6 separate regions of the Homo sapiens genome follow, and regions 2, 3, 4, 5 and 6 are each linked to region 1. The links are contacts of gene promoters, found by promoter capture Hi-C in blood cells and fetal thymus (Javierre and others, 2016). All regions are on one chromosome and are shown on one strand. Each heading gives the region's core, a stretch centred on a gene start or on the middle of the fragment in contact. The rest is flanking DNA. Distances are from core to core; before and after follow the strand shown. Region 1 holds the start of TRAPPC8 (trafficking protein particle complex subunit 8). Region 2 has its middle 23 kb from the start of MEP1B. Region 3 has its middle 34 kb from the start of SLC25A52. Region 4 overlaps RNF138 (ring finger protein 138). Region 5 holds the start of SLC25A52 (solute carrier family 25 member 52). Region 6 has its middle 43 kb from the start of RNF138.

Evidence for each region. Contacts are between HindIII fragments. The CHiCAGO score rates a contact against its expected background, and 5 or more counts as called.
Region 2: a fragment that was not itself captured here is called in contact with the fragment with the promoter of TRAPPC8 in region 1 in 1 of 17 cell types (neutrophils); the score reaches 6.5 in neutrophils.
Region 3: a contact is called between a fragment that was not itself captured here and the fragment with the promoter of TRAPPC8 in region 1, in 1 of 17 cell types (non-activated CD4 T cells). The highest score is 5.1, in non-activated CD4 T cells.
Region 4: a fragment that was not itself captured here is called in contact with the fragment with the promoter of TRAPPC8 in region 1 in 16 of 17 cell types (neutrophils, total CD8 T cells, naive CD8 T cells and 13 more); the score reaches 24.1 in neutrophils.
Region 5: a contact is called between a fragment that was not itself captured here and the fragment with the promoter of TRAPPC8 in region 1, in 1 of 17 cell types (total CD4 T cells). The highest score is 5.6, in total CD4 T cells.
Region 6: a contact is called between a fragment that was not itself captured here and the fragment with the promoter of TRAPPC8 in region 1, in 13 of 17 cell types (neutrophils, naive CD8 T cells, non-activated CD4 T cells and 10 more). The highest score is 18.8, in neutrophils.

Annotation. Positions count from the first base shown.
Region 1 is chr18:31,940,227-31,944,925 of GRCh38, forward strand. It overlaps TRAPPC8 (trafficking protein particle complex subunit 8), which reads right to left and starts at 2,902. Exons shown (of 29, transcript NM_014939.5): 1 at 2,382-2,902. The coding sequence starts at 2,538. RefSeq lists enhancers at 1,797-2,575, 2,677-2,886 and a silencer at 2,507-2,626. The HindIII fragment of the contact is 12,839 bases long and covers 1,609-4,699 here.
Region 2 is chr18:32,164,998-32,169,576 of GRCh38, forward strand. No RefSeq gene overlaps it. Among named protein-coding and RNA genes, the nearest start is that of MEP1B, 23 kb to the right of the region's middle. The HindIII fragment of the contact is 6,002 bases long and covers 229-4,579 here.
Region 3 is chr18:31,792,817-31,797,698 of GRCh38, forward strand. No RefSeq gene overlaps it. Among named protein-coding and RNA genes, the nearest start is that of SLC25A52, 34 kb to the left of the region's middle. The HindIII fragment of the contact is 1,707 bases long and covers 514-2,220 here.
Region 4 is chr18:32,110,884-32,115,505 of GRCh38, forward strand. It overlaps RNF138 (ring finger protein 138), which reads left to right. Exons shown (of 8, transcript NM_016271.5): 3 at 871-1,036; 4 at 2,862-2,977. Among named protein-coding and RNA genes, the nearest start is that of RNF138, 21 kb to the left of the region's middle. The HindIII fragment of the contact is 5,185 bases long and covers 445-4,622 here.
Region 5 is chr18:31,760,464-31,765,207 of GRCh38, forward strand. SLC25A52 (solute carrier family 25 member 52) reads right to left here and starts at 417. Exons shown (of 1, transcript NM_001034172.4): 1 at 1-417. The coding sequence starts at 198. The HindIII fragment of the contact is 1,431 bases long and covers 1,478-2,908 here.
Region 6 is chr18:32,132,553-32,136,897 of GRCh38, forward strand. No RefSeq gene overlaps it. Among named protein-coding and RNA genes, the nearest start is that of RNF138, 43 kb to the left of the region's middle. RefSeq lists silencers at 470-670, 2,260-2,460. The HindIII fragment of the contact is 3,779 bases long and covers 788-4,345 here.

The DNA of each region.
Region 1 (4,699 bases), core at 1,652-4,151:
AGCACTTTGGGAGGCGGAGGCGGGCGGACCACGAGGTCAGGAGTTCGAGACCAGCCTGGCCAACATGGTGAAACCCTGTCTCTACTAAAAATACAAAAATAAGCCGTGAGCGCCTGTAATCCCAGCTACTCGGGAGGCTGAGGCTGGAAAATCGCTTGAACCTGGGAGGCAGAGGTTGTAGTGAGCCAAGATCGCGCCACTGCACTCCCAGCCTGGGCAACAGGGCAAGACTCCATCTCCAAAAAACAAAAAACAAAAAAACTAATTTCACTTGTTTCTTTTTACTTTTTTAATGTGGCTACTAAAATTTTTTGTTGTTGTTGTTTGTTTGGTTGGTTTTGAGATGGAGTCTCACTGTGCCTCCCGGGTTCAAGTGATTCTCCTGCCTCAGCTTCTCGAGTAGCTGGGACTACAGGCGCCCACCACCACGCCCAGCTAATTTTTGTATTTTTAGTAGAAACGGGGTTTCACCATGTTGGCCAGGATGGTCTCGAACTCCTGACCTCGTGATCCACCCGCCTCGGCCTCCCAAAGAGCTGGGATTACAAGCGTGAGCCACCGCGCCCGGCCGAAAATTTTTTAATTATACCTGTGACTCACATTATATTTCAATTAGACAGCACTGCTCTATGGTGTAAATACATAATTCTAAATACTGTCAGGAGATAAGATGATTAAGAACACAATGTCTTGAGTCACACTGCCTGTTTCAAATCTTTCCCAGACGCAAAACTGTGAACAAATTAACACTTCTATGCTTCAAGGTCCTCAAATTTAAAATTGCAATAACAGGATTCAATGAGGACTAAAAAAGAAAAGTTACACAAAGCAAGTATCAGGTATTAGCATTATTATTATTTATTAAGAAAGAAGGAAAGAGTACACATATAAAAGTAAAACTAGCTCAAGTGTTTGTGTTTTTTTAGGAATTCAAGGCCGGGCGCGGTGGCTCACGCCCATAATCCCCGCACTTTGCGAGGCCGAGGCGGGCAGATCACCTGAGGTCGGGAGTTCGAGACCAACCTGACCAACATGGAGAAACCCTGTCTCTACTAAAAATACAAAAATTATCCGAGTATGGTGGCGCATGCCTGTAATCTCAGTTACTCAGAAGGCTGAGGCAGGAGAATCGCTTGAACCTGGGAGGCGGAGGTGGCGGTGGGCTGAGATCGCGCCACTGCACTCCAGTCTGGGCAACAAGAGCGAAACTCCATCTCAAAATAAATAAATAAATAAATAACAAAAAAATAAAAAACGTAGGGCATTTTGTTGCTCTTAAGTCCAACACTGAAGGAACTGAGACTGATGGCTACGATACAGGCTAAAGAAAATCCAAAAGTTTCCAAACTTTGTTTTTTTGGACAGCTCCCTCTCTCCGCTAAAAACAAAAGCTAATTTATAATGGAACTATTCTCCCAAAAAACATGGTAGCGCAAAAATGGTACAGCACTGATTTTTTTTGTGGATAAGTCATATTAAGCTAACAAACATCACAGTCGTTTGCCTGACACAGGCTTATTATGAAACCCTTCAGTTCTTACCGACCTTAACAAAAAAAACTTTACTTGGACTTTGTTGTTTGCAAGATATTGGCTAAAACATGCTTGAAGCTTTACCACATTATTTTCTCCTAATAAAAAAATCCAAAACTGGAGAAAACGGGTAGCTTCTTAACAAGACATTCATTAACAAGAGAAGACATTTCCATCCCTATAACTATAGATAACTCCAAATATCCAGGTTAAATTAACCACAACTTGGGCTTGCTTCCTCTTCCTTAGGGCAAAAAGCTGCTTCAAGTTTTATTCTTCTTATAATACTTTTAATTTTCTTGAGAGGTTAAGCAAAATACCGTATAGCTAAGAATATATTAGTAAAACAGCTACACGGTAGTTCAGACAGAGATGACCCTCAACGCTACAAGAATGTAATAACATCCACAACTACTTTCAAAGTCCAGTTTAACATCCAAGGGAGGATGACAGGTCTTCCTTACTCAGACCCTGTCGGTCTAAGAGGCAGCATTTTCCTACCTTAGCTGCTTTGCAAGTGCCTAATTCCTTCGCTATGGCCGTGGAGAACAGTCTCAATGCCGTTCTCGAAGACTCACGTTTATCTTTGCACCAATTACTTAACGACCTAGGTTGTCCGAGGAAGAAAGGAAGTGCCCAGAGAAACTGGAGCTTAGGACTGCGCTGTCTTGACAACCTCACGGTCCCTCCTCCAGCCGCCCCCGGAGCACCGCGGGGCCACAGCCCCAGACGCCACGGTACCGGCTCCAGGACGTAAACACTGCCCTTCTCTTCCCTGCCCGCCCGCAACTTCCTTCTCCCGACCACGGCTTTGCGGGAGCCCACTGGAAAAGGGAGGATACCACATACCCTCGGAAGTGAGGCGGGAGAAGGGCTTAAGCAGCTCCGCGAAGCTGAGGTGATTGAGACGAGTGAGCCGCTCGGCTTCGTCGCTGCACAGCGCAGCGACACAGGGGACGAAGGAGTCCGGGATTAGCTCCTGCACTGATTGTACACACTGGGCCATCGCCGCAGCACAGGCAGCGGCGGCGCCCGCCCTCCGGCCCACCCTGCGAGGTTATCCTGCGGCTGCAGCAGCTACCGCCGCCGCCCGCCGGCCTGGCCCGGCCGGGCGGGGCCCCGAACGCACTGGAGCCTAGAAACAAGAAGGAACAGACGCCGCCGCTTCGGTTTCTGGGGCACAATCCACTGACCCCCCCCTTCCCGTCACCGCCGCTTCTCAGCGCTCGTCCCCGCGTGCTCGCATTCCACCCCGATAGGTGGAGACGCCGACAGTCACCACTTAGTCCTTCGGACGGCAAAACCTTGGTCACTGCCCGGCCGGAACCGCCATGTTGAGGCCGAACCCTGACCAACCGGCAGTACTACTCCCAGCTGCCCCCGCGCGCGTCCCTCACGTGACTGTGTTAAAGGAGACGGTAGGGGCAAGGGAAGAGAGCTGAGGAGAGGGAAGTGAAAAACGACGGAGGCCGGTTGGGAGGCTGGAGCCGGAAGTGTTGTGACGGAAGCTCCCTGGGCGGGGCGGGGCTACAAGTGCGGTGGGCGGGGGCGGGGGCGGGGGCGGGGGCGGGGGGAGGTGCACAACTGTAGGCCGGGTTCTCAAGCTCGCCCTTAGCAGAGCAGAGCTGAGAGCCACCTACTAGCGGCAGGTGGAGCCTCGAGACGGGTGCTGTCGTGGTGATGGAGGCGCACGCTCGCTTCCCACGCAGTTTGGCCTTTTTGACGTCCCTGGCTGTTGTGGGCAACCGATTTGGTTGGTCGCGCTGCTTCCTACGCTCGCCGGCGGAGCAGCTAGTGGCACCTGCTCGGAGAGAGGGAGTGGATCTCTCGGAAGTGCTTGGGGTTTCGCTGAAGCGGACCTGAACAGACCATGTGTCCTTTAAATACAGCCATGCTTTTAGAAACGGACTGTCACTTTATGTGGACTCAACCATTGAACAGAATGTGTGCTTTTGTGAGTGCTGCAATTCCTTCAAGTGTAATTGCGCTACTGCATTTTTGTTGGTCGCAGGGAAGGGGTGTGCCTGCAAATGTCCGCGTGGTTCGTCCTCAGCCTCTTCCTTTTTACACTGTGCTAGGATGTTTACTTGCTTGTGGTGGAGGTAGGGGAAGCCAGTATTTGTGTACTGTGTACTGTCCTGAACCGGCTTTCATTCCTAACTTTTCAAAGATTGCTTTAAAGGGGGGGGGGCGCGGGTCAAATATTGTTTTAAAGGGGGGGACGGGGTGAGGTCAATGGTGTGTGCCTTGTAAGTAGAAATGAATGAAAGGAATTTTACTAATGTGTCACTCAATTGTTTGAGCTCCTTCTGTTTTGCATGCCAAAAATATAAGGCAAGGAAAAATGTATCATTCTATCATGATTTTATGGTGCTCTAATTAAAGGTGTCTTCCCCAACGTCAATGTCTCAAATTTTTCGACTTCTTGACACCCTCAGGTTTTCACTAAGGTAATAATTTATGACAAGTAAGATGTGTGCTTCTCATGTAAGTTGATAAATGGGAGGTAGGAAGGCACAGTAGGACATATTGATGACATGCCTTGGCTACAGATTAATTTATAAGAGAGTCCATCACTTTAGGAGATTTATTTGCCGAAGTTAAGTACGAGCCCAGGAAACAGGTCTATGCCTTTCTTCGAAGATGATTTTGAGTGCTCCAAATTTAAAGGGGAAAGGGCGGGATATTGAGAAGCACACCGTTTTCATGTAAGGGGGCGGTAGGAGAAAATAGTAATTCTTGCCTTTCTCTGGCTCAGTGAATCTGCATTTTTTACATAAGATGACATAAAATGGGCAGAGGAAGAATGTGGGAGTCTGCATTTTTCATAAGATAACAGACAAAATGGGGTAGGGGAACAATCAGATAGGCATTTGTGTCTGGCGGGCTGGGGTGGCCACCTGTAAAGATAAGCTATCAATTTGCATTGCCATGAAGTTTTAACAGCACACTAAGAATTTCCTTGTGGGCAAAATACGGGGGAGAGATGTAGCTTTTCATCTTGCAGCAATCTTATTTAGGAACCAAAAGGGGGAGGCAGATTTGCGTGACCAGTCCCAGCGTGACTTTTCCCTTTGGCTAAATCAGTTTGGGGTCCCAAAATTTAATTTCCTTTTGCAAGAGATAACATGTTACACACAATCCCTTTTCAATGCTTCTGATTCACT
Region 2 (4,579 bases), core at 1,980-4,479, 230 kb after region 1:
AGTGGAGACCAGTCCTTGTACCTTCTCTTCTCTGTTCATGCCTTGGTGATCTCATCCAATCTTGTGGCATTAAATATTTCTCATTGCATGCGGTTACTCCCAAATTGGTATCTTTAGCCTGTACTTACCTCTTCATAGATCCAACTGTCATTTCCAATTTGGTGTCTAAGAGAAAATTCAAACTTAGTTTGTCGAAACTGAACTCCTGACCTCCTCCTATCCCATCCAAGCTTAGTTGTCCTTATGCTTTTCCAGGTTTATTTAATAGCAACTTTATTGGTATAGTTGCTTAGCTCTAAAACTTGGATTCAGCTTAGATTCCTCTTTTTTTTTTTTTTGAGACAGAGTCTCGCTCTGTCACCCAGGCTAGAGTGCAGTGGCAAAATCTTGGCTCACAGCAAGCTCCGCCTCCCGGGTTCACACCATTCTCCTGCCTCAGCCTCTTGAGTAGCTGGGACTACAGGTGCCCACCACCACGCCAGGCTAATTTTTTGTATTTTTAGTAGAGATGGGGTTTCACTGTGTTAGCCAGGATGGTCTCGATCTCCTGACCTCGTGATCCACCCGCCTCGGCCTCCCAAAGTGCTGAGATTACAGGCGTGAGCCACCGTGCCCGGCCTGGATTCCTCTTTTTCTTTGATACTACACATCCAGTTCAAATTTCCATGGACTTCACCTTCAAAATATTCCTGGGATCTGACCTCTCTGTACCATCCCCACTGTGGCTCCCGTGGTCTAAGCTGTCCTCAGTTCCCCTGTGGATTTCTGCAATAACCTCATAATCTGCATTTGTCAATCTTTCAGTGTATTCCCAATAGAGCCGCCAGAATAATCCTGCTAAGACTCATTTGATCTTGTTATTCCCCTGCTCGAAAATCATCCAGTGGATCCTTATGCCACAGTGAGTAGGAGCCAAAGTCTTGGAATGTCCTACAAGCCCTTCCCTCTCTCTACTGCACTCAAACAAATTGACCTCCCCTCTTGCTACTCTCTTCATTTGCTCCCTCCAGCCACACTGTTATCCCTGCTGCTGTTTGAACATGTTGGTTGTGTTCACAACTCAAGGCCTTGTATTTGCCATCTCCTATGGCTGGAACTCTCTTCCCATAAAAATCCCCAGAGCTTGCCCCCTCACTTCCTTCATATCATTACTCAGATGTCACCTCCTTGTTAAATCCTTCCCTGACAATCCTATTGAATATTTCTACCCTTCCCCCGACACTCTTTATTCCCTCTCTTAACCATGGTGGATGAATATTGTGCTAACTTAGCTGAGCTGGAGTTATCATTCCCAGATTCTCTTCCCTGGAGAGCTCTGAAGTCACATGGGCCACAGATATGTGTCTCACATGCTTAGAAGGCAGAATTGAAGGAACCACCATCTTGTTTTACACTTAGAAGACTAGTGCAGCTCAGTGCATTGTTGCTACCTGTTGGCTCGCCTGATTGGCACAGGGCAGTGGCTGGACCCTTGACCACTCCTCTAGCTCTAGCTGGATCTTCCTTTAGTTTTTCAGACTGTTAGGTGAGAGATGTGTTTAGCTCCATGGTGAAGGAGGCCAGCTTCTCCCTCAATACGCCTCCTCCCACCCTCCATATCACCAAAATTGGAGGCTTAGAGACGGTGAGAGAGCCATAAGAAGTCCAGTCAATCCTCTTGGTTTACAGCTCAGCTGTGTAGGTTCCATCTTGCTTCCCTTACTTCATTACCATCTTCCTTTTTTTTTTTGGAGATGGAGTCTAGCTCTGTCGCCCAGGCTGGAGTGCAGTGGCGCGATCTCGGCTCACTGCAGGCTCCACCTCCCGGGTTCACGCCATTCTCCTGCCTCAGCCTCCCGAGTAGCTGGGATTACAGGCACCCGCCACTATGCCTGGCTAGTTTTTTGTATTTTTAGTAGTGACGGGGTTTCACCATGTTAGCTGGGATGGTCTCGATCTCCTGACCTCGTGATCCACCCGTCTTGGCCTCCCAAAGTGTTGGGATTACAGGCGTGAGCCACCGCGCCCAGCCCATCTTCCTTTCTTGACTACCTGCCCTATTGATTTCAGGCACTAGTGCCTGACACAGAAGCAATAGCCTCCATATAGACTGTTTAACCAGCCCCCACATTTGCATGTAGGCAAATCCCTACAATAAGTCCTTATAATAAGCCATTACACATGTTTATGTTTGTGGTATGCGGATAAATGTTTAACAACCAGCTTTCTGGAAAAAGAAAAAAAAAACCCTAATTTGTAGCATTTGCCAATTTTCCTGGTATAAATATTCTTACCATGGCCAATTTCAAGCCACCAATGTGACATCACTGAATGGGGAGAAGAGAGAAGATGCTGATAGCTCTCTCAGGCCAGTACTAGCCAGCTCCAGCCCACCACTGTGAATACCTCTTAATGGTCTTGTTTCTCTGGTCAAATCCTAATAAACCTATTTTTTCCCCCACATCTCTTAGCACCTTCTCCCATGCTCTATATTTTAGTTATCTGTGTCCTACTTTGAAATGTAAATTCTATCAAGGCAGGGATTTTTGCCTGTTTTGCTGTATCCTTGGCTCTCAGAAAAGATTTTTTTTTGCCCTTTTATGTAATCATAAAATTAAGTTTATCAAGTAAATTTGATCTCAAAAAATGAGTATGTAGAGTAGCTCCTTTATGGTAGCCTCTATATATATTAAAATTGTTTATTATATTTATTTATTTTTTGAGACAGACTCTCATTCTCTCACCCAGGCTGGAGTGCAAATAGTGCCATCTCAGGTCACTGCAACTCCCACCTCCTCAGTTCAAGCAATTCTCATGCCTCGGCCTCCCAAGTAGCTGGGATTACAGGTGTGTGCCACTGGCTAATTTTGTATTTTTAGTAGAGATGGGATTTCACCATGTTGGCCAGGCTGGTTTTGAACTCCTGGCCTCAAGTGATCCACCCATGTCAGCCTCCCAAAGTGTTGGGATTACAGGCATGAGCCACTGTGCTCAGCCAGAATTTTTTTTTAATACCAAGGTAGCTATTTTAACTCTGCTTCCCTAGTTTCTTGTATGGAAAGAAGCCTTTTCTGTACATTTCTATCTTATCAGAACAGATCTTGGCACTTAATAGCCATTCCACATATATTTACTGAGTGAATGAATGTAGTGTGGGAAGATGTGGCAAGGGTCTGGCAGAGGAAGAACCTGAGTAAGAATTCTTGGAGCTTTGTCAAGGCATGACCTGGTTTGGTTTAGTTCAGCAAATATTTGTTGAGTACCTACCATATGTCAGGTATCTTGCTAGCTACTGAGATCATAAAAAGAATATGGCATGTTTGCCAATCTGGCTGAATTCAGCAAGGTTCGAGAAAAAGGGAGAGAGGTTTCAGGGTAAATAGGACATAAAGAGTTTCTAAAATGAAGAAATATTCAATAGAGCCAAATTCAGCATAATGGATGATTAAGAAAGAGATTGAGAAGTATCTTCTTTACAGAGCAATTGGAAAAGTTACAGCAGATTTTCTCCGAGATGCTACTTCCTCTGATGTTTTATTCTCAAATACTTTGGCCATGTTCTGTTGTAGCCATCTTGATGTAATTAATTTTCCAACAGCCATCCCTTTTGGCCTTTTGGCAGTGGGATCTTGATTTTTTGCAGTGGTTTTTGTTTTTGAGACAGAATCTCACTCTGTCACCCAGGCTAGAGTGCAGTGCTATGATCTCGGCTCACTGCAACCTCTGCCTCCAGGGTTCAAGCAATTCTCCTGCCTCAGCCCCCAGAGTAGCTGGGATTACAGATGTGCGCCACCACACCCAGCTAATTTTTATATTTTTAGTGGAGATGGGGTTTCACCATGTTGGCCAGGCTAATCTTGAACTCCTGACCTCAAGTGATGCACCATGCCTTGGCCTCCCAAATTGCTGGGATTACAGATGTGTGTCCCGCACCCAGCCTGGCAGTGGGATCTTAAAGGACAGGGCTGTTAAAAACTTGTACCCTTGGCCTGGGCAAGGACTTCATGTCTAAAACACCAAAAGCAATGGCAACAAAAGACAAAATTGACAAATGGGATCTAATTAAACTAAAGAGCTTCTGCACAGCAAAAGAAACTACCATCAGAGTGAACAGGCAACCCACAGAATGGGAGAAAATTTTTGCAATCTACTCATCTGACAAAAGGCTAATATCCAGAATCTACAAAGAACTCAAACAAATTTACAAGAAAAAAACAAACAACCCCATCAACAAATGGGTGAAGGGTATGAAGAAACACTTCTCAAAAGACGACATTTATGCATCCAACAGACACATGAAAAAATGCTCATCATCACTGGCCATCAGAGAAATGCAAATCAAAACCACAGTGAGATACAATCTCACACCTGTTGGAATGGCAATCATTAAAAAGTCAGGAAACAACAGGTGCTGGAGAGGATGTGGAGAAAAAGGAACACTTTTACTTTTACACTGTTGGTGGGACTGTAAACTAGTTCAACCATTGTGGAAGACAGTGTGGCGATTCCTCAGGGATCTAGAACTAGAAATACCATTTGACCCAGCCATCCCATTACAGGGTATATACCCAAAAGATTATAAATCATGCTGCTATAAAGA
Region 3 (4,882 bases), core at 117-2,616, 150 kb before region 1:
CACTGCTATGGACACATCGGAGACAGAATAGGTGAGCAGAGGATGTTGTCTATGTGACGGTAATAGATGGGTATTGGATAATGAGAAGCCATTCATCAGAGCCCAGGAAGAAGAAACCCAGAGCCTGGGAAGAAGAAACACTGAATCTGAGAAACTCAGTCACCAGAGAGTACTTTTCTGGGAAGCTGTGGTTTATGGAAAAGAAGGAATGCAGGTTGGAAAAGCAAAAAGAGAGCAGAGGACAGCTGCTTCCTAATTCCACAGGTAGCTCCCACCTGGGCTATCTCTAGTGTATGGCTCTTGAGACTTCATATTTATTTAGATTCTGCTTTACAGTTTACAAAGGGCTTCATATGTCTCTTATATGCTGAGGAAAGATAGTGGTGTTATATTGCTGAGGGAAACTGAGGCAAGATTTTAGTACTAGTAGAACTATAGAACTGATCTAGCACCCAGATCTTCAGCTTCCAATTCAAAGACATTTCCCCTCTAGGATTGCTGATCCAAACCAGAAGCTTGTCTCCGCAGCTTTGTCTGCCCTTTCTTGTCAAGCCTCCTCATGCCATTGCACTTTCCTACTTGCCTTGAACACCTTCCCTTTATATTCCTCCTGATTTGGTGCCATCCTATGCCTGGGTTGTTACAGAGAGTATATAGAAACAGCACAAGGCCATTGTTCTATCCTTTCACCCTTTGAGATGCAAGCACTATTTATCTTGGAATTTTTCATTTGGGTAATAACTAGACAAAGAATTACAGTACCTACTCCTTTCCTCCTTCAGCAAGGAGTCCTCAGGCAAGGTAACACTACTGGGGCCAGGTTCTCAGAAGAGAAGACTGTGAGAAGGAGGAGGAGGAAGAGGAGGAGGAGGAAGAGAGGAGGAGGAAGAGGAGGAAGAGAGGAGGAGGAAGTGGAGGAGGAGGAAGAGGAGGAGGAGGAAGAGGAGGAAGAGGAGGAGGAGGAGGAGGAATAACAGCCATTTATCATTCTTTGTATTGTTAGCTGGTGAAGCAAAATGGATACACTTTGTCTCTACAAACACACATTACAGCCAATGAGACATAAAAAAGGTGAAAATGGGCTACATTTTAAAAACATTATTTGCCTTGCATATTTTTATGAGTCTCCTTGACCCTGAAACTGAGGAAAAAATAACCTTCAAAGCAGAGAAGGGAGGTAGTGAAAGCAAACCAAACCAGAATACGAGATGAACATCATTGACATCAGAAACCATCTGCTGGTCTTTGTTGTTAAGAAAAACCCGTTAGCCTGGTTTAATGGGGACAGATCAGACAGCATGAGGTGGATTGTGCTGAAAGAAAACATGCAACTATCCCCCTATCCTTTGGGTATAAGGCAGGTTCTGACATTAGGCTAAAAAGACTGGCATTTAATGGCCCTGCATTTGCATAATGACCTTCCTTCTGTAGCTTGTGATATCTCAGCTAATTGCTTTAGAACACTTCTGCTACATCTGGGGTTTTTTTGTTTTTGTTTTTGTTGTTTGAGACCAGCTTTTCACTTGTTTCCCAGGCTGGAGTGCAATGGCGTGATCTCGGCTCACTGCAGCCTCCGCCTCCTGGGTTCAAGAGATTCTCCTGCCTCAGCCTCCCGGGTAGCTGGGACTACAGGTGCCCACCACCACATCCAGCTAATTTTTATTTTTTATTTTTGGGGGTTTTTTTTGTTTGTTTGTTTTTGAGATGGAGTCTCACTCTGTTGCCCAGGCTAGAGTGCAGTGGCATGATCTTGGCTCACTGCAACCTCCAGCTCCCGGATTCAAGCATTTCTCCTGCCTCGGTCTCCCAAGTAGCCAGGAGTACAGGTGCGTGCCACCACGCCTGGCTAATTTTTTGTATTTTAGTAGAGATGGGATTTCACCATGTTGGCCAGGATGGTCTCCATCTCCTGTCCTTGTGATCCACCCACCTCAGCCTCCCAAAATGCTGGGATTACAGGCGTGAGCCACCACGCCTCGTCCATCTGTTAGGTTTTACTACTTTCTAATCCATTCAAAATCCTCACTACCGGCCAAGTCCCAAGCCACTTAAAATTTTTGGAACATGAGGTTGTATGAACCAGAATTCATATGATTCACCTGGTGAGATATATGTGATGTGCTATCAGAAAGAAGGTAATGCCCAGAGAGAACACAAAGTCATAAAAAAAAAATCCTGATTTCTATGTCCTCTTATGTCACAGGGATGAGCTTTGAACAAAGCTTTGTTCCTTCCCATTGAGCTAGAGGAATCTTCCTGTGGATAGAATCTGTGATTCTATGAGTCAGGCAGTTCTCAAACTCCTCTGTGTAACCTGTAACTGAAGAATAAGGAGGTTCATAAATTTGGAAAGGAGAGCTTAATTTCTCAGCAAGACTTGCAGCCTGTATGGTGGCAATTCTGACAGGCTGGGAAGCACAGCCTTCAGTCAGAAGCCAGAAACAGACACTTTGAGGGAGGGGGAAGGGGAACAGGAATTTATGCAAGCAGGGTGGACAATTAGCCATAGATAAATATATCTTAGTTCTTCAGGTAATTCTGATATGAATACCCCCCACATTTAAAAAGCTGTAGGAGGAGTCATGAATATTTATGAGAGGAGAAACGTGCATGTGCAGCTGAGCTTCATGCCCCTTCATGGGTCCCAAAAAATGTCGGCATTGGCACGATCCGATCTTGGCCCTCTAACATCAAAAAGTAAAGTAGAGGACACAAAAACCCTCACTATGCATCCTCTGTGGACTGGCCAGAACCAATCTGTGGTAGGTGGTCTATCATTAGGAAGGAAGCCTGATTGGTTGTGGTGTCAACACTGCAAAAGGGAAGGGCAGCATCTGGCTGTTGGCTGATATCTGCAGTGGTGTCTTTCAGAAAGGCTGGTTTCTGGCCAGTCAAGGTGGCTCACACCTGTAATTTGAGCACTTGGAGAGGCTGAGCAAGAAGGATGGCTCGGGCCTAGGAGTTTGAGACTAGCCTGGGCAACATGGCAAGACCCTGTCTTGTATTTTTTAAAAACTTTAAATAAATACATAAAAATTTAAACATTTTTTAAAAATTAAAAACCAAAAAGGCTAGTTTCTGTTTAGCCATCAGGGAAGAAAGCCCTAATGACGTCAGCAAGGAAGGAGGTATAATGAGGGATGTTCAATCTCTCATCTCATCATGGCTAGGAACTCAGCTTCCAAGCTTTCTCTGGGGTCCCCTTGGGCAAGTGGGGGATCCATTCAGTTGGTGAGTGGGCCTAGAATTTTGTTTCTATTTCTGAAACCTGAGAGTGGTCCCAGACTTTTGGGAGAGAGGGTCCTGGTACCCACCATAATAAAATTCAAATTCTGAACTAATTGTGGTCTTATCCGCCTGTCCCAGGGGCAGTGTGGGCCAGGCACTCTCAGGCCCCGCTTAGGCTGAGCTCCTATTCTATGACTTCATTTTCTCAGCAGGTGAAGCGGGGGCTTGCCCCAGGAGCCAACAGAAAATCATCATGGTGAGGTGGGAAGCACGAGGACTGGAATCAGCAGATCTGAATTCTAAACTTGGTTGGCTACTGACAACCTGTATGACCTTAGACACTTAGCTCTAGGAGTCATTTAATAATAACTAAAAGTATCTATCATATATTAAGAGCCTATATGTGCCAGAGCCTATATTAAATACCTTACATATTTTAATTTATACATGTAAAATAATAAAATATATGTTAAATAATTCTCACAACAACCTAAATGAAGTCTAATATATCAATTTTTATTCTCATAGCATTTTATTTGCTAGAACAAATGAATACATTTAGCTCTATTTGGTCTATAAAATATTTGGAGAAAGCTAAAGTCTTTAAGTATTTTATTTTAGACAATAGAATATAAAAACTTAGTTGATGTCATTACTGGAAAATTATCCAAATATCAAAGATTTTCTCACATAAATCAGTGGATTACTTATTCATACAGTTAAATTCCAGTAAATACAATAAGAAGACAACATCTTCAAGGGTCAGAATAGGGTTTGATGTGTGACAAAATATAATTCAAGTTTATTTCACTAAAAAAAAAAGGTCAATTAGAAAGCTTAGTGGGACAATCAGAAGGGTAGCAAGCTCTGATCAAGGGATAGCAGAGCGTTGTCTCTAAAATGGTGTAATTTTTGTTTTCATTTTGCCAGCAAATGAATGTTGTCAGGGTTCCCTGCGATGGGGAAATTAGGTTAAATTTTGAAAATCAAACTGTTAAAATCCATCATGCTATGCAAGTCCAGACTGCTGAGAAAAATGACTAAACTACAGAAAGTTTTTTTCAGTGAATGGTTGAGAATGTGGGGTTAGAAAGGCAGTTATCCCGTTCCTCACTCATCATTAAGGGTCGTGTCAACACTCCTATAACAAAAGACAGTTAACAAGAGAAAAGCACAACAAATTTACTTAAAGTTTTACATGACATGGGAGCCTTCGGAAATGAAGACTCAAAGACCCAGAGAAAACTGTCTGTTTTTTTGCTTAGGTTTGATGAAGAATGGACAGCTGTGCGAAATGTGGTTAGACAAAAGGTGTGATCTAATGGTAATAGACTCAGGGGGACCCAGCAAGACTGATGCAGATTCTTCTTGGCCTCTCTGTGGGGCATTCCTTTCCTCTGGGTATAGGACAGGACACTTGTCACATGAGGGTCTTCATGGGCAAAGGGAGATTAGAGTGACCTTTCTAGGTTTTATGACTTGCTGTGGGTAACAGCAGTTCTAGTTTCTATGACTCCCCTTGGGAAAGGGGAATATTGCCTTCTGTGACTCCCCTTGGGAAAGGGGAATATTGCCTTCTATAACTCACTTGGTGGGAAAAGGAGGGGAGAAAGATGGGAGGCCAGGAAAAGATCAGAAAGACCTTCTTTTGAGA
Region 4 (4,622 bases), core at 1,787-4,286, 170 kb after region 1:
CATTCTCCTGCCTCAGCCTCCCGGGTAGCTGAAACTACAGGCGCCTGTCACCACGCCCGGCTAATTTTTTATATTTTTAGTAGAGACGAGATTTCACCGTGGTAGCCAGAATGGTCTTGATCTCCTGACCACGTGATCCGCCTGCTTCAGCGTCCCAAAGTGCTGGGATTACAGGCGTGAGCCACCGTGCCCGGCAAAGCCGGAAGTATTCTTAAGTATTTCTCAAATTATGTTCCATTGCATACTGTTTGGGAAATTTCCCTACTTCCGGACCAAATAACCAAATATCTGTTAACACGCAGATAACTTTGGGTAACACCTAACTTTGGGTAAAACCTATTAACTTTATCCTAGAACTTCCCAAACCAATTTGTGTGCTCTTTTGTAGTAGACCTGTTTATGTCTTGTGGAACAACATGTCGATATACATCAGTTTGAGACAAAAGCTTATGTTACTCATCCTTTTATTTTGTAAGGGGAGGAAATGGAGATCCAGTGTGCGTTAATTTGTTGGCCTAAGATTACACAGCTACTAAATGGCAGAGCCAGGATCCGGTTTTTCCTTTGTACCATGCTTCCTCTAGTAATATTATTAATATGTAGCATTAATATTTATTCATCATATATTATGTTAAGAAGTTGTAAAGCAGACTTGAGTGTAATTGTTCAAATATTCCCATCTAGTCCAGTTATCAGTCTTACTCTCTGATAAATACATATACAGTTACTAAACTTCTGAGATTTATGTACATATGAGTAGCCTAACTTATTTAATATGAATACATATTTATAATCACTTGTTTGTATTTAATTATAGAGATGAAGAGAGTAATTTTTTTTGTAATTAATGTGTCACAATGTTTGGTTTAGTTTCTGTAGAAAATGTTTCCTGACTGCAATGAGGGAAAGCGGAGCACATTGTCCCCTATGTCGTGGAAATGTGACTAGAAGAGAGAGAGCATGTCCTGAACGGGCCTTAGACCTTGAAAATATAATGAGGAAGTTTTCTGGTAGCTGCAGATGCTGTGCAAAACAGGTAGAGTAAATGTGACATCTCTCTTCTTTGGAAGCCAAGTTTCTACTCTGAAATTCTTATTTGAATTTTCTTGGTTGGTGTTTTTTTTTTTTTTGAAAAGATGAAAGGTATTTAGACTGGGAATTGGATAGAAAAGGCCAAAAAAAGCTGTGGTCATAGATCTTACTAGATTATAAACTTACTGAGAAATGAGACTGAAAAAAAAATCACTGAATTTCATAATACTTAGCGTGGCATTTTTCTAAAAGTAATTTCTCATTGATTACTTGCTAAAGTAACTAAATTAGCAAGCTGGCATTTAGCTCATTTAAACCCCATTCTGGTACAAATTCACCCCTTAAGTTTTTCTCATGGTAGCATCATTATTGCAGCTTTACACATAGAAATGTTACTAGTTTGGGCACATGGATTTATGTAGTTTAAGGAACTCTCTAGCTCCTCACTTTACTTATGTATTTATGTATGTATTTAAGAAATCACAAGGGCCGGGCATGGTGGCTCATGCCTGTAATCCCAGCACTTATGGGAGGCCAAGGTGGGTGGATGACCTGAGGTCAGGAGTTCGAGACCAGCCTGACCAACATGGTGAAACCCCGTCTCTACTAAAAATAAAAAATCAGCCAGGTGTGGTGGCGCATGCCTATAATCCCAGCTACTTGGGAGGCTGAGGCAGAATTGTTTGAACCTGGGCGGCAGAGGTTGCGGTGAGCTGAGATTGCGCCATTGCACTCCAAACTGGGCAACAAGAGCGAAACGCTGTCTAAAAAAAAAGAAGAAGAAAGAAATCACAAAATATTTGGTTAATTTTAAGGAACATGTAGGAAAATCAGGTGTTAACAAATAACCAGCATTAATTCTCTAATCTGGATTTTATTCTATCATTTGGAGAAGGAATAAAATAGAGAGGGGTGGTTAGGCTTTGAGTATATCCATGTGTCTATAGATTTATCACCGACATTTTTTCTAATAGCTAATGAATTCAGTGAGCAAAGCTGGTTGCTATTTCATGCATTCACACAAGTCAGATCTGCTTTTACATCTTTTTGAAGGAAGTGTTTAACTGACAGGGCAATGACGTGAAGCTGGAAAACACACTCGAGAGATTCTGGCTATTCCTCTCAGTGAGAAACTGAAAAATGTTCCAAGTATTCCTGGCAACTTAATTTTTTTTGAGACAGGGTCTCACTTTGTCACCCAGGCTGGAGTACAGTGGCACAATCTCGGCTCACTGCAGCTTTGACTTCCCAGGCTCTAAGCAATCCTCCTGCCTCAGCCCCACAGGTAGCTGAGATTACACCTGGCTAATTTTTGTATTTTTTGTATAAACAGGATTTTGCCATATTGCTCAGGCTGGTCTTGAACCCCTGAACTCAAGCAGTCCACCCATCCCAGCCTCCCAAAAGGCTGGGATTACAAGCGCGAGCCACTGCACCCAGCCAGGAACTTAATTTTTTTTTAAGTGCTTTCTAACTCTGCCAGGCTGCAGAAGTTAAATAATAAGACATGCCCAATAGCATCTGGCATCCTCTTAGTGCTTTTAATTTTTTTGTCTACTGCTGGTAGTGTCTTTTCAAGTGTGAAGTTATTTGCTGTTTTTTGCAGTGAATTTATAGACAGATGGACTCTTCTCCATCTCTACATTTAATGAACAGAAATGTATTATCTATTCTTAACTCCTACTTAAGGATGAAATCATTTACTTTAAAAAAATACAACTCCTGTTTAAATGGAGTATTTAGTTACTTTTATTTTTTCCTCTCTTTACACTATTTCAAATCTTACGAGTTCTATTTTAAATTAAAAGTCACATTTTAATAATTTACAGATTAAATTCTATCGCATGAGACATCATTACAAATCTTGTAAGAAGTATCAGGATGAATATGGTGTTTCTTCTATCATTCCAAACTTTCAGATCTCTCAAGATTCAGTAGGGAACAGGTAAGCAATACTTATTCCTAAATACAGAATTTTCATAATTGAAATGGAAATTGTTTTGGGAACTATATGATAAGGTATTTGGGGGGATGTGTGTGTGTGTATGTGCACATGTGTTTTTAAAGTGAATTGCCAAGTATCAGAACTACAGCATTTGCCTTAAAATCTGTTTGGCACACGTAAGCTCTCATCTGGGAGATGACTTCATGAACTTCAGCTTATGTTATTTAAAATCATTCTAAGAATTTTCATTTTTTTGAGTAAAAAATAAGTTGGAGATTTTTCTCTTACTGATTTTGCAACTGAAATGATTTGAAAAACTATAGAAAATCCTTTTCAGTAATGTATTTGCAAACTACAACCTGTTTTTTCTTTGCTATCTAAGGGATAGACTTAGAGTTTGAAATTTTTATTCTAAAATGTCATGTAAAAATGAAACCAGGTGCAGTGCAGTTCTGTTTGAGTCTCATTTCTTTTAAACAACTAGATTTGGATTGATTTGTATCTTATCTCAGATTCATGTACATTAAACATTTTTATGAAATGTATTTTACACAGAAAAATGGCCAAAATGCACTTGTGGTTTAAAAAAATAATGATTAACATCCAGTTACCTATTAACCCAGGTCAAGAAAGAACATTTTTCAAAACTTCAGGATCTCTATGTGAGCTCCTGCCCATTTGAACCGTACACTCCTAGATGCAACCACTATTCTCTTATTTGGATTATTCATTCCTTTGATTTTCTTTATGTATCATCACCCATGCATGTATCCCTAAACAATGCATTGTTAATTTTGAAAACTTCAGTAGTAAGCACATACGTAACTGTAAGGAAAGACAATATTGCCACTATTATAGAAAGGTTCCCAGGAGACAGTATGTTAAGCAGTCTCTAATATTTTATTTTAGTAGCCTTTCATTTTACATATTGCTAATTTTTAGTAACTTAACCGCCCTTAAGCACTTCATGTTGATCATACTACATTAGGCGTCTTCCCTACTCAGTTGAAATTTCTGGTAAAAACCTTTAGTGATTGTCTGGTAAAGATCTGCAGTAATTTTCTGATTGCCTAGTCTGAAAAAACTTCAGGTTCTCATTTTACTTGACTTGTTAGTGTCAAGGAAATTTGTTTGAAAGTTGTTGCTCTTATAGTTTTTTTTTAGTCCTTCTGGGTTTCTTCATTTCTATGTTTTTCTTATTGTTGTACTTCTACTTTATTGTAATTTCCTATCTGCTTTTTTACCCAATAGATTGTTCTTAAGTGAGGGGATGGTGTTTGTCTTGTTGAGCATATCTCCAGCTTTTAGTAAAGTTCTTAGTATACATGATTGTAATCACGCTTTTAATGACCAAATTTTCTTATCAGGAGACAGGCCTTCCTCCCCCTTATTTCTTAGATCCACTTGGTCATAGACACTTGATTCCTAATAGCAATATTCCTCATCTGTACTTTTATTTTATCTTGTCACTTCCCTAGCTCAGGCCCTCATCATCTCTCACTCGAACTATGATAATAGCCTTTTTAGCTGGTAGTTATCCTCTAATCTGTTTTACATTCTATCGCCAAAGTAATATTAATGAAGTATAAAAGACAAAATTCTGGCTGGGCGCGGTGGCTCACACCTGTAATCCCAGCATTTTGGG
Region 5 (4,744 bases), core at 943-3,442, 180 kb before region 1:
CCGGGTTTTGATGCCATACAGCTGTTGCCGAAAGAGGACCTTCTGAATGGGATATGTGATTGCGACGTTGTTGAAGGCTGCACAGCAGCCACACAAGTAATGCTTCATTTCACCAACATTTGTAATATGAGGTGATATATCTTGTTTTGAAGATGTAAGTATTGGTGGCCTCTTTTCATGAGCTTCTGAATCTATCATGTTGCTTAAGATCTTTCTCATGAAGGGCATTTTTTAACCTGTGACATCATCTGAGCCTGGAGTTTGGCAGGATGATAGCTTTGTGATAATGTTCCCAATTTCTTCCATTGTTATTGTTCTGTTAGGTTCTCTCTTCCCGAGTCCATTTTGATAACTGGATTTCCGTTCTCCAGGCGTCCATTTCCCCAACCCATCGCCGCCGGCGCCCCGCAGGACTGCGAGCAAGCCGGGACCTGCGCAGGCGCAGACCATGACCGACCCCGGGGCGGGGGCGCAGCGTGACGCTCTGGGCGCCGCTGGGATCCGAGAAGAAACCCTTTTAAAGCAAGCATGGCAATTTCTTCTAAATAAGCTGGATAAAATTAAAAACTCATTCATCCAAAGATCCTAAAAAATCAACAAATTCCTAAATATTAAATGGTATAGACACAAGTGTTTCTTAAATCACATAACCTTCTCCACGGACACTGTGAAGATGTGTTGCCAGTGGCTTCCCTAAGAGACTGTGAAACTTTTTAAATAGTGTATACATACAAGAAAAGTGGATTTTAGTGTAATCTTGCAGAAGAACAAAACAAACATGGTATCTAAGAGTACAAAGGCACAAAAGTTGAAATTTCATAGTCACTCAGGCCTTGGAGTACTGTATTTTCTTGAAAGGGAAAAAAGTAGGCCAGGTGCAGTGGTTCACACCTGTAATCCCAGCACCTTGGGAGGCCAAAACGGGAGGATCGCTTGAGGCTAGGAATTTGAGACCAGCCTGGGCAACATAGCAAGACCCCTGTCTCTACCCAAAAAAAGAAAAAAGAAAAGAAAGAAAAAAGTAGGTGGTAAGGAGAAGTAAGGAGAAGATGAATTTTTTTTTTAAAAAAAGTTCTGTATACCACATGAAATTTTACTGGGAGGAAAGTGTCTGAGGTTTTAAGAGGCATAAATTAAATAACCTTGAAACCCATTTTGCTCTAGGACTACCCATGTGTTTTCTAGAGTAACCAATGTGTATATTCCATGTATGTGAATGAGAGATGAAAGGAAACAAAAATAACTTCCCTTCCAGGAACAGTGGAAGGCTTCAGCCAACAAAGTAGGTCACAGCATCAGACTACATTGCCTGCTGATGTGTACTGCCTAGTTTTTGAATAGAATCAAATGACAGCTTCCTTGAGATTAAATGACAGTTTCCCTGACCATCATCTTAAAGCACGCCTATGGTGGATCGCTCTAGAATGAACCATAAACCCGAAGTTCTCTTTAAGCTTTAGTGAAACGAAATAGTAAAAGCTTTTCACGGAAAGAGAAGGGAGTCTCCAACATTTATACTGATTGATTTTGGCAGCAATGACTTTCATTAGAAATGTAATTGCTGGGTATGCAAAAATTAGCACTGTTGGGGCTAGAGAGATCTTTGTTTTCCTTTCTTTTGTTTTGTTTTGCTTTTTTGCCTAATATTGATAGTGTTTTCTCGGTTTTGCCATAGCCCTTCTGTCAAGATGCTGGCAATCAGTATATCATGAAAAACAGACTGCCCTTTCTCGCATTTATTGAAGAGAGATTCTCATGATCCTATGGTAAGATAACAATTGCTTTTTTTCAATCCATCCTCCACACTGCAGCCAAAGCAGTCATCTTAGTAACAAACGTGAGCACGTTTTCCCTCACTTAAATCTTTAAATGATTTTACACCTGAAGGACAAAGGTCCCCCATGGTCTGACGTTTTCCTACCCTTGGCGCCATCTGCCTTCACATTTCTAAAGGCACCTTCCGTCCCCGCCATATCAAACTACTCGGGGTCTCCAGAATGAAGAATAATGTGCCATCTGACACTCCTTTGTCTTTATTCGGTTATTGCCTCTGCCTGAAATGTCCTTACTTCTAGTTCCTACTCAGCTTCTGGAAGCCTTCGCTAACTCCTTAGTCCAAATGAGGACCCCTTCTCCACAACACACCCTATACACACTGTGAGTGTGGCACGTGTCACACTGTACAATGTCCACGATTCACAATGCTGAGGGCTTCTTGAAGACACAGTCCACTTCTCATTGAACTTTATTCCAGTTTGTGTCCCCAGTGTCCAGGCATCTGGTTAGGTCTCCAACTGCTTAAGAGTGTAAAGAGTGTTGATGAGTTCTGTATTACTCATGGGTCTTGGTTATAAGAGCCAAAAATACCATTCCAACTGAAGCAAGCAAATCTAGGGGGTAAGGAAAGGAGAAGGAAGAAGGAAGATGAGAAGGAGGTAAGAAATCAGGAAAGGATTTAAAAAGGTGGCATCTGGGCAACATTTAAGGCAATTTTCCAGCTTCTCTCATTTGCACCAGTAGGAGTGGGCCATGTGGCCACAGAGGAGAACATTTCCGAATACCCTTCTGGATCCTGCTGATTTTGGGGGGTACTTACCTCCTTCTGTCCTCAGCACCCAAGTGCCAGATGAGGCAAGTGAATTCCTTTGCAAGAGAGGAAAGAAAGGCAGTTTCAGTGAGAAAATAACAATAAAAAGTGAAGTGGGGGGAGAAATGTATTAGTTCGTGTAATGAAAAAGTTGAGAAATCCAGAAGTAGCAATCACTTTAGGCATTGCTGGATCCTAGAGGTTCAACCACCATCACAAGTACTTAACATCCCTCTCCACGTATATATTGCCCAGCTATACATTCCTCAGTTTTAACTTCATTTTCAGTCAGCTCTTTCTACAGAGTAACATCCTACCTGAAGCTTATTCTGCTAATTTAGCAACTGAAGGATGAAGTGCTTCACTTTCCCAACAGTTCCTGCAAAACAACCCTAGGATTGAGTCTCATTGCAGTTAGTTGGTCTGAACCAATCACTGGGATCAGGGGGATGGAAAATGATACTAATCAAACCTGAGTCACTTGCCTCATCCTGCACTTGTCAGGTAAATGGGGCAGAAGGAGGTAAACCTCCCATCCCGCCCACCACCCAAACCACTGGGACCTAGAAAGGTATTAGGAGGTGTTCCCCTCTGAAGCCACACAGCCCACTGCCATTGGTGCAGATGAGAGGAGCTGGAAAATTGCTTTGGAAGTTGAGCCATTGCCACCTTTTTTTGGTCCAAGCTTGCAGTTTCTTGGGCAATGTAACTATACAGTTTGAAATCAGGCAACTCAGGCAGGCGCGGTGGCTCACACCTGTAATCCCAGCACTTTAGGTGGCTGGGGTGGGGGATCACCTGAGGTCAGGAGTTCAAGACCAGCCTGGCCAACATGGTGAAACCCTGTCTCTACTGAAAATACAAAATTAGACGGGTATGGTGGTGCACACCTGTAATCCCAGCAACTTGGGAGGCTGAAGCAAGAGATTCACTTGAACCCAGGAGGCGGACGTTGCAGTGAGCTGAGATCACACCATTGCACTCCAGCCTGGGCAACAAGAGCGAAACTCCATCTCAAAAAAGAGAAAAAAAAAAAATTAGGCAACTCTACTGACCGATGGCCCAAGTCAAATATGTTTGGTCACAGTCCTAGATTCCAGACCCTTTATTGCGGGATTTTTGTCTCAGCACAGGCCCTAATGCTCTGCTATCCCACCTAGTCCTCAACCTAGTGTTGTCCATGCTGGCTGCCCCAGGGCAGAACCAGCACCCTCAAAGCACAGATAACTTGGCCCTTGCCCCTTGGTTATGTCTGATGGGTGACTCTTTACAATGGAGACCATTGTCACCCTTCTCAGGCTGCTAAATGTCTGCAAGATGTTTGGGAGAAGCCTAAAAGAACAGGAATGAAGCTTCTCTCTGACTCCTATCTTATCTTCTGATATGTTTTCCACACCCTAGGCTTTGTGAGAAGTAATATTAGTTGATGACAGAGAACCCCACTTTTCAATTCAGCGAAGCTCAGAGACGTCTAATCTAACTTTCTATTATTTTATTTATTTAATTTTTTTGAGACAGAGTTTCATTCTGTTGCTCAGGCTAGAATGCAGTGGCACCATCTTGGCTCACTGCAACCTCCACCTCCCAGGTTCAAGCGATTCTCCTGCCTCAGCCTCCCAAGTAGCTGGGACTACAGGCACATGCCAAGACACTTGGCTAATTTCTGTGTTTTTAGTAGAGATGGGGTTTCACCATGCTGGCCACACTGACCTGGCCTCAGGTAATCCCCCAGCCTCAGCCTCCCAAAGTGCTGGGATTACAGGTTTGAGGCACCACGCCCAGCCAGGGACATCTAAGTTTCTAAGTTGATGGCTGTAGGAAGAAAGGGCCTCCTGTAGCAAAGCTGTCTTTTCTTCCCTTGCTGCTTTCAGATTGCCCATTTCTAACAAAACTTGTTTTTCTGGTAGGACCTAACCGAAGGCTACAAAATAAATTCATCTTATTCCATCAGCCTGACATTTTTCTACCATCTCTCTTTAACTTTCAACTTCAGTAGGCTCATGGTCAGAGCACCAAGAGAAAATAGAATAGTTTCACCACTGCCTTGCTATTACTGCACAACAAAATTGCCAGCTTCCTGCCCAAAATCGAGAGGTCCTCACTGCCCCTATCCCATCTTGACTGAGCCACGTCTCTATTTGACAATCTGCAACATGT
Region 6 (4,345 bases), core at 1,427-3,926, 190 kb after region 1:
ACTGCACTCCAGCCTGGATGACAGAGCAAGACCCTGTCTCAACAAAAAACAGGAATTTTTTTTTTTTTTTTGAGACGGAGTTCTCTCGTTGCCCAGGCTGGAGTGCAATGGCATGATCTAGGCTCACTGCAACCTCCGCCTCCCAGGTTCAAGCGATTCTCCTATCTTAGCTGGGATTACAGGCACACGCCACCGTGCCCAGCTAATTTTTTGTATTTAGTAGAGACAGGGTTTCACTATGTTGGTCAGGCTGGTCTTGAACTCCTGACCTCAGCCTCCCAAAGTGCTGGGATTACAGGTGTGAGCCACCATGCCCGGCCAAAAAACAGGAATTCTTAAGATTGTAATAGTGAAAGACATCCTGCAGAATTTAAGGACAAGCAAGGCAGGGGAATAAATATGGAAGACTGGTAAGCAGATGAGTCACAGCCGTTTGGTGGAGGATATGGAGAGGAAGAAAATAGGATGTGAGGGAGATTTCGTATTAGTCTAAGTGGGCAATAATGGCACATGATACTGAAAGTGCACAAAGTGAACAATAACCTGAAGTAATCCATGCTCAAGTCAAGAAAAAAAAATTGCTAGAATCTCCTAAGTCTTTTTGTTTCTACTTCCAGTCACAACTAAGTATTATCACGACATAACTTCTAATACCATAAATGGGTTTGTGTTAAGTGGAAGCACACAGTAAATATTATTTTATATTTGGCTTTTATAACATTGAGATTTTTCTGTTTTTTTCTTGCATTTACAGCAGCAGTGACTTGTCCTTTGTCCAGAACAGAAAAGCTTAGTCTTCTAAAGTTATATTTTAGTATTTGTAAAAGTTGTGTTAAATGTATTACAAGTGATTCTTTTATGTATGCTGGTACCTGGGGATGCCAAATGTAGGTAAAAACAAAACAGGCTGGTCTTCCCCTCATAACTGAGGAAGGAAGTGAAGAGTCTAGCCAAATGGCCTTCCGCTGCTCTTACCTGACTTTCCATGAGCTGTGTATGGGATGTTCTATCTTTTTTTTTGGGACAGTGTCTCACTCTTACCCAGGCTAGAGTGCAGTGGTGCAATCTCTGCTTACTGCAACCTCCATCTCCCAGGTTCAAACGATTCTCCTGCCTCGGCCTCCTGAGTAGCTAGGATTACAGGCGTGCGCCTCCATGCTCAGCTAATTTTTATACTTTTAGTAGAGATGGGTTTCACCACGTTGTCCAGGCTGGTCTCAAACTCCTGGCCCTAAGTGATCCGCCCACCTCAGCCTTCCACAGTGCTGGGATTACAGGTGTGCGCCACCGCGCAGGGCCTGGATGCTCTTTTATCTTTTGGGGGGATGGAGTCTCGCCCTGTCACCCAGGCTGGAGTGCGGCGGCCTGACTTCGGCTCACTTCAACCCCTCCCAGGTTCAAGCGATTCTCCTGCCTCAGCCTCCCGAGTAGCTGGGATTACAGGCATGCGCCACCACACCCAGCTAATTTTTATATTTTAGTAGAGACAGGGTTTCGCCATCTTGGCCAGGCTGGTCTCAAACTCCTGACCTCAGGTGATCCGCCCACCTCAGACTCCCAAAGTACTGAGATTACAGGCGTGAGCCACCGTGCCCTACCTCGGCCTGGATGTTTTCTTTTCAAGGCATTTTTGTAGGTACAGAATTTTATTTTTCTATTTTATTTTTTTGTTAGGCTCCCTCAAATCATGGGAAATAGGAGATTTTAATGAGTATTTAAGGACAATATTTTCTGGGATAGGATCTGAAGCCACCAATAGAAACAAAAGCGGTTGCAGCAGATACAGAAGGGTGTTGGGTAGATCTTTGCCAGAAGACCAAGCATTTAAAACAACTGAGCCTACTTTCTTGGACCAGACAACCTGTTTTTGATGATTCTGCTGGTTGCTACTTGTGTAGTTTGGACACATTTCGTAGCCCTTTTTACCTCTATGGTTTGTGAGGATTGAATTAGTTAATATTACAAAGAGCTTGGAACAGAGCATGTTAACGTTTATTGTTACTGTGTATCCAATACAAGTCAACCTATTGTATTTATATCTGTCAGGTCCTACTTTAGTCTAAAATCCTGTCAAGACAGTCTGGATTTTTTTTCCCCCTTAAGGATATAGAGTCTAAAGGGTTACTAGTCTTTATTTGCTGGCCTCAACTGTTTGTATTTTTTGTAGAGAGAGGATTTCGCCATGTTGCCCAGGTGGGTCTCAAACTCCTGAGTTCAAGTGATCCTCCTGCTTTGGCCTCAAGGCCTCGATCCCTTGAACCTAAACTCCTTGTCTCAAGGGATCTTCAGCCTCATGAGTAGCTGAGACTGCAGGTGTGCGTCATACCTGGCTTGCTAGCCTCAACTTTTGTGGGAAGATCTGAGACACTGTTTTTGTTTCCAAGAAGTACAAATACCCCACACATGAGGAATTCTGAATAAAACATATCTTAAAATAATTGCGCCGTTGTACTCCAGCCTGGGCAACAAGAGCAAGACTCCTCAAAAAAAAAAAAAAAAAAAAAAAAAAAAAAAAAAGAAAAAATAATAAAGAACAATCAGCTGATGATCATACTTCTCAGTCGAATGTATACCTAGGATGTATGATGAGAAATTTACTTAACCCACCCATTTTTAAACATGTTTGGTTCTTTAATAATTAGAATGAAACTATTGTCTCTAGGAAAAAAATTATTTTGCAACATTAGCAAATCACTTGACTAGCTTACATATGATTATCTAGGTTATTTGGTAGTATCAAAGGGTGTAAAATAGTTTTTCTGAGCTTTTTGAAAATTTTATGAGTAATGGTTGAGAATACTACTCTATACCAACTGTTTCTGTTTCCAGATAGAATTGATATATCACAACAGCATTTTCTGTGTTTATGAAGTAATTTTAGGTTTACTTAGACTCACACTTTTCAAACTTCTTGCCTCAGGAGCCCTTTACCCTTAGAAATTATTGAGAACCCAAAAGCAGTTTTGTTTTTGTGAATATAGTCATGCGCCACATAACGACATTTTGGTCGTTGATGGGCCACATATGCAATGGTGGTCCCTTAAGATTATAATACTGTATTTTCACTGTACCTTCTCTATGTTTAGATATGTTTTCTATGTTTAGATATGTTTAGATAAACTGTGTTATAGTTCCTTACAGTATTCAGTATAGTAACATGCCATACAGTTCTGTAGCCTAGGAGCAATAGGCCACACCATATAACCCAGGTATGTAGTAGGCTTATATCATCTAGGTTTGTGTAAATATACTCTGTGATGTTCACACAATGAGGAAATCACCTAATGGTACGTTTCTCAGAACATATTCCTGTCATCAAGCAATGCATGACTGTATTTATCACATGTTTGTCACATAGGAAACTGATAAAGTGGACCAGGCCCAGTGGCTAATGGCTGTAATCTCGGCACTTTAGGAGGCAAGGTAAGAGTATCCCTTGAGGCCAGGGGTTCAAGAGCAGCCTGGGCAACACAATGAGACCCTGTCTCTTGAAAAAAAAAAAAAAAAAGGGGGAATTGACAAAGTGAAAACATTAACATTTAAAATAATAAGCTCATTACATTATCATTAACATTTGTAATGGAAAATAACTTGCAAAAATATTCAGCAGATCTCTCAAATATCTAGGTTAATGGAAGACAGCTAGATTGTTCATATTGTTCATATATGCATCAGCATTCAACCTATTGTGGGTTATTTTGCTTAAAGGATATGAAGATAATCTAGTCTCATACAGATAATGTTGTTGGAAAAGGGAGGAATATTTTAATAGCCTTTTAAAAAAGATAACTGAGTTCCAGTAAGGTGGCTCATACCTGTAATCTCAGCACTTTGGGAGGCCGAGGCGAGCGGATGGCTTGAGCTCAGGACTTTGAGACCAGTCTGGGCAATGTGATAAAACCCTGTCTCTACAAAAAAAAAATACAAAAATTAAATGAGTGTGGTGGCATGTGCCTGTAGTCCCCGCTACCCACAGCAGCTGAAGTGGCAGGTTCTCTTGAGCCCAGGGAGGTTGAGGTTGAGATTGCAGTGAGCCATGATTGTGCCACTACACTCCAGCCTGGGTGACAGAGCAAAACTCAGTTTCAAAAAAAAAAAAAAAAAAAAGTTGGCTGGGTATTCTTACATACTGCATCAAAACAAAAACAACAAATAGTAACTTTTTTTTTTTTTTTTTTGAGATGTAGTTTCGCTCTTGTTGCCCAGGCTGGAGTGCAATGGCACAATCTCAGCTCATTGCAACCTCCGCCTCAACCTCCACCTCCCAGGTTCAAGCAATTCTCCTGCCTCAGCCTCCCGAACAAATAGTAAATTCTTAAAAGTTAGTTGTAATCCGAACCACATC